Regions from separate parts of the Homo sapiens genome. Here region 1 is linked to region 2. The links are contacts of gene promoters, found by promoter capture Hi-C in blood cells and fetal thymus (Javierre and others, 2016). All regions are on one chromosome and are shown on one strand. Each heading gives the region's core, a stretch centred on a gene start or on the middle of the fragment in contact. The rest is flanking DNA. Distances are from core to core; before and after follow the strand shown.

Region 1 (2,821 bases), core at 200-2,699, 260 kb before region 2:
AATACAGACAACCAGATCCTATTTTAAGGAATTATCTTTGCTTGTGTTCAGAATAAACTGAAAAAAAAAAAAAAAAGGTATGGCTTCAGAAAACAAATATGCTGCAATTTCAGAAATGATGCTAAGAGTAGATTCCAAAGGATTTTTAAAACTTATTTAACGTATGTCCAGGGATACACCATACTGGCTGAGTTCTGTTACACAGGTCATACCTGTACATTGCATAGAAAATTGATTGTCCATGAATAAAGCATTTTTTCCACTGTGGAGTGAAATGTGTTGTCACACCAATTGTTTCTATTAGTCATCTGTATTTGCAGTGGAAGAACTTAAAAGTGTTTTTGTTCCAAGGACCCCTGTGAAACAATGTGACACTCTCAGTGTTAGTTCCTTGAGTAATGGACCATATATGTGCAATGACAGCCAAGCAGAAAGAAAAAACATCTTGAAAAGCTCAAAAACAGATTCAGCTTTGAAAATAACTGGACTGAAATCTACACACATTTCTAGAATACTAACAGGCACATTCAAATAATCTATGATCAACTTTTTCCAGGTACTCCAATGCAGCAATCCCCAACCCTTTTGGCACCAGGGACTGGTTTCGTGGGAAGACAGTTATTCCATGGAGCCAGATGGTTTCAGGATGATTCAAGCGCATTACACGTATTGTGCAGTTTATTATTACATTGTAATATATGATGAAATAATTATACAACTCACCATGACATAAAATCAGTGGGAGTCTTGAGCTTGTTTTCCTACAACTGGATGGTCCCATCTGGGGGTGATGGGAGACAGTGACAGATCATCAGGCATCACTCTCATAATGAGCACACAACCTAGATCCCTTGCATGCGCAGTTCACAGTAGGGTTCCTGCTCCTATGAGAATCGAATGCCTCCACTGATCTGACAGGAGGCGGAGCTCAGGTGGTAATGCAAGCAATGGGGAGCAGCTATAAATACACATGAAGCTTTGCCCAACACTCACCTCCTGCTGTGCAACCCGGTACCAGTTGTCACCCATGGGCTGGGGACTCCTGCTCCAAAGGGTAACATTTTAACATTCAGCTTAAATAAATTTCACCAAAAATATCTCAACAATTCAAAGAGGAGTGTTCCTGACACCAGATCACTTTATTCAACAGAGCAGCTCCCAAAGTCATGAAGTACTACTTGGTTTAAAAATAAAGCTGTTTTTCCCACGTACACACATTCAACAAAACTATCTTTGGTATTACTTTACTGAGTGAGGTTTAAAGGAGTTTGGGAAAATATTACAGCCTTCTTCCTTTTCCCAATGCTAAAAGTTTTGTGTATTTTTTCCACATGCATTTCTTTGTTCATATATATTTTAAAAAGTCTAAACAATTAGGATATTGTATCTTTTGCTCTGTAATTTTTTTTCCTCATCAGCCTCTTCTCAGGCCAACATATACATATCTAACATTCTTTTTAGTGGTGAGAGAATATTCTATAATATTACATGTATGTACCATAATTTATTCAACCATTTACTTGCTAATTAACATTTAGATTTCCAGTTTTTTTTTTTTTTTTTTTTTCATTTTTATTTTTTGAGACAGACTTTTGCTCTGTCACCCAGGCTGGAGTGCAGTGGCATGATCTCGGCTCACTGCAACCTCCACCTCCTGGGTTCAAGTGGTTCTCCTGCCTCAGCCTCCTGAGTAGCTGGGACTACAGGCACACAACCCCATACTCCACTAATTTTTGTATTTTTAGTAGAGATGGGTTTCACCATGTTGGCCAGGCTGGCCACAAACTCCTGACCTCAAGTGACCTGTGCTTGCTTCAGCCTCCTAAAGTGCTGAGATTACAGGTGTGAGCCAACACATCTGGCCTCTAGAATATGTTTCAATAAACATCTGTGTCCTTACATTTTTATGCATGGAAGCTTTTATTTTTATAATTTCTCAGAAGGTTGTTCACTGAAAGTTATGTGTATTTGATTTTAATTCACACCCAGATAACTTTGCCAGCAATGTTTCTGCCAATTTCCTTGCATCTTCACCAAAATGGATATTGTCACTATTTAACCTTAAACCAATCTGATAAAAACTAGTATTACAGTAATACTTTTTAAAAAACAATCCATTAACCCTTATAATGAAGATGAACACACTTTATATTTGTTGACTTTTTCAATGTCCTGTTCTGTGAATTGCTTATTCACAGTGTGACCACTTCTCCAATAACTTAAACTTCTCTTTGTATACAGGGACACTGACATGTTTCCTATTACTATACAAATATTTCTTCTAGTCTACTTGTTGTTTTAACTTTGACTGTGGTCCCTGCCATATGACATTTAAATTTTTTATTAAGTAAAATATGTCTGTGTTTCCAATCTTGTTAAAAAGATCACTTCCACCCTAAGGTTGTATAGACTTTTCTTTGAATGTGTCTTTGTATTGTGTTTCCATTGTTGGGACCAATGTGAGAAATTTCTGCAATTCTTCTAAAAAATATTTTTTTTTTCAAAGAAGGGAGGGCAAGGGCAAAGAGCAAGAAAGGAGGATGGAGATGACTGGTCCATGGTTTTAGTTAAGAAAAATCCTAGATATCAGAAAATAAGATTTGTTAATGTTGTGAATCCTTATATGATCACAAAGCCACATTCTTAGGAAACACACAATTAAAAAATGTATTTTGATGTATCCACTCCATTAATGTGGATAATGAAATTTTACATATATGTATATCATTTTATATTTAAACATTTCAACAATTTTTATTCCCACCTTCCTTGAATGCTGCTTACCTATCAACTTAAAAAGACGGTAGAAAAGAACAGGGTA
Region 2 (2,764 bases), core at 40-2,539:
TTTGGCAGTTAAAGAATTGGTTCCCCAACCTAAATCTACAGACAAGATGAATTTTCTGATTCATCTCCTTTCCTACAGTTTCTGGATTTTGTTTATCCTCCGATTCCAAATGGCATAATTGCTAGTTCTTTCTCCCACTCTACGTCCATCACCAGGTGGGTGTTTCAGCCTTTTTCTATCCCTCACATAGGACGCTCCAAAGGAAAAGAGAGGTGCTGTTTCCGGGGGGAAAGAACGTAGGATAGTTGAAAACAGCACGGTATTTTATTCACAAACTTGATTTTAAGATGACTGAAAAATCTAATGTGAAATAAACATTTTAAGAAATACAGTATTTGCTCTATTACTGTGTTGTCTACTTTGCCTCACATTTAATCTATTACAACTATAGAGTTAAGACAACTGTGATTCCTAAGCTTAATTCACATGATTGATCAAAACCAAGCTTAATTCTGTTTTAATGTTGTGTATTGCTGGAAGTAACACAAAGCATTAATAAACAAAAGGAATTCGATACCCATTTTGGGTAAATAGTATTTCTGCCTTCATTCTAACATAGATTTCATTTTGGCTTTTAAAAAACAGCTGCTGTGCTATATACCGCCGTATCCAGTAGTTGTTAAATACCTGGGCAACGTTACCTTTCTAGGGCTTGTTTCCTCATACATAAAACCTATTGGTACCCCGGGCCAGCTCTCCTATTGCTTCCTGATCGGGGACGATCTAAAAATCTAATTTAACAAATATCTGGTGTCCAGTGTAAAATAGCATGCTTGATGTCTTATTAGCACAAGACATAGAAGAGCAGGAAATTCACATAAGGAAACGGACCAGCTGTGAGTAGTTCCCAGTGGATATAACCTCTCCTTTGTTGGCCTTTAAATAATAAGTGCATCAGCTGCCGCACCTGCGATGCATGCACGCGTGGAAATCCTGCAAATTCTTAAACTGCCATCCCAAGGCGGAAAATGCAGAATTCCATTTTATTTTAACTTTTAAAGGAGTTAAATTCGGGCTTGGTACTGGGGTCCTCTCGGGGAGGTTTCCCTTACCTCTCCCAATGACGCTACTTAACCTCACCAGCACTCCAACACTGCCCACACTTGCCTACCCAGTTCTAGGTGAACGGTCCCACTGGGCACGGACCAATGGGCTCGTTCCTTCCCAGCGGCAGGGTGGGACCTCCAGCCTGGGCTTCGGAGACCCGCCCCCCGTACGTGGCGTGCGGGCATTGCGCTACGCGGCGCGGGCCGGTTTCTACAGCGCGTGGCGCCCCCCGGCGGCAGCCGGGCTTCAATGCCACGGCCTGACCGGAGTGTCCGCCATGGAGTCGCAGAAAGAGGCACGAACACTCCAGGAGCCCGTTGCGCGGCCTTCTGGGGCCTCAAGCTCTCAGACGCCGAACGACAAGGAGCGGCGGGAGGGCGGCGCAGTGCCGGCGGCGGCTGCCCTGGGCGCAGAGGCGGACGACGACAGTGCGGACGGGCTGTGGGAGCTGCCGGTGGAGCCGGCCGAGCGGAGGCCTGAGTGCACCCGCTGCAGGTGACCGCGGGGCTGGGGGCGGGGACTGCAGCCGGCAGCGGCCTTCGGAGGAGGGTGCGGCGCCCCCTGCCGGGGAGTCGGCGGCTCGGGCAGCTCTGCGATTAGGGCGGCGGAGTTGGCGGGTGCACGTTGGAAATCTCGGAAATGCCAGGCACAGCTACCTAGTAAGAAGCCCTTTTTCCAGGTTCATGATTATCTAACCTTACTTCCTGCAATATGCTGAGCGTATCATGGGATGAGCAGACATCAGTTCTGTTTCCAAGAAACTTAAGCGTCCAATAGGGGAAGTAAGGGGTGATGACAGTAATACTTGTAAAATAGTTACACAGTCATATTTAAGTGGCATAGTTATATCACAGTTAAAAAGCATAAAGTGGATTGGAGGAGAGAGACAGTCTCCTTTACCTATCCTACCAGAACTCTAAATATAGGGCCTTTTCAGGTGTTCATTCTAGGTTCTCTTCAAACCCTACATACGTCCCACTGGTAATTTATAAAATCAGTTTTCATGGTAAATTATCATCTATATCCCAGTGTGTCTAGCTCAGACCTTTCTTCGGAACACCAGACCTGTGCATTAATTTATCAGGTGTTTATTGAGTGCTTTGGTAATCACTGACAATGCAGTGGAGTTCATGTTTTTGTAGAGTATTCTCTTACTGGATACGGATAATAAACCAGCAAACAAGCAATCAAATATGTAATTACAAACTGGGAAAAAAGCAGTGAAGGAAAGGAATGGGTTGCTACTGTAGAAAATAGCTCAATGGTGTCATGAACTATCTCTGAGATTTGAAAGATGAGAAGAATCCAGCCAGGGGAAAAGCATTCCAAGAAGGGGAACAGAAGGACTGAATATGGTTGAAGATCTTTACTGCTTGAATACTTGGAGTATCACACTTTGGACATTTTGACCTTTTCCTAGGGCTGGATTGTAAGACTTCAGAGGAAAGGATCTTGAATGTAGAATGTTTTTATATTTTCTAAATGTACTATGTATAGTTGACGCTCAGTAAACCTCTGAGGAGGATGGAAAATTTGTGATTAGAAGGGACTGTGAATTTGAACATAGGGGTTTGTGAATACAATTAATTTAAACAAGTCGTCTGAGGGGGTTGGGGAAGCATTTAAAAATGTTTGGAGGGGTCTCAATAGGATACTGGAGGAAAAGTGTTTCAAATATAAATCAAAGGCTAAATTACTGTGCTAGTTTTATTTAGTT

Evidence for each region. The method cuts DNA at HindIII sites, captures the fragments that hold promoters and counts their contacts. A CHiCAGO score of 5 or more calls a contact.
Region 1: a fragment that was not itself captured here is called in contact with the fragment with the promoter of DTWD2 in region 2 in 15 of 17 cell types (naive B cells, non-activated CD4 T cells, fetal thymus and 12 more); the score reaches 10.7 in naive B cells.

The regions. Positions count from the first base shown.
Region 1 is chr5:119,249,257-119,252,077 of GRCh38, reverse strand. No RefSeq gene overlaps it. Among named protein-coding and RNA genes, the nearest start is that of MIR5706, 96 kb to the right of the region's middle. The HindIII fragment of the contact is 941 bases long and covers 979-1,919 here.
Region 2 is chr5:118,987,072-118,989,835 of GRCh38, reverse strand. It overlaps DTWD2 (DTW motif tRNA-uridine aminocarboxypropyltransferase 2), which reads left to right and starts at 1,289. Exons shown (of 6, transcript NM_173666.4): 1 at 1,289-1,542. The coding sequence starts at 1,325. RefSeq lists a silencer at 1,376-1,705. The HindIII fragment of the contact is 4,492 bases long and covers 448-2,764 here.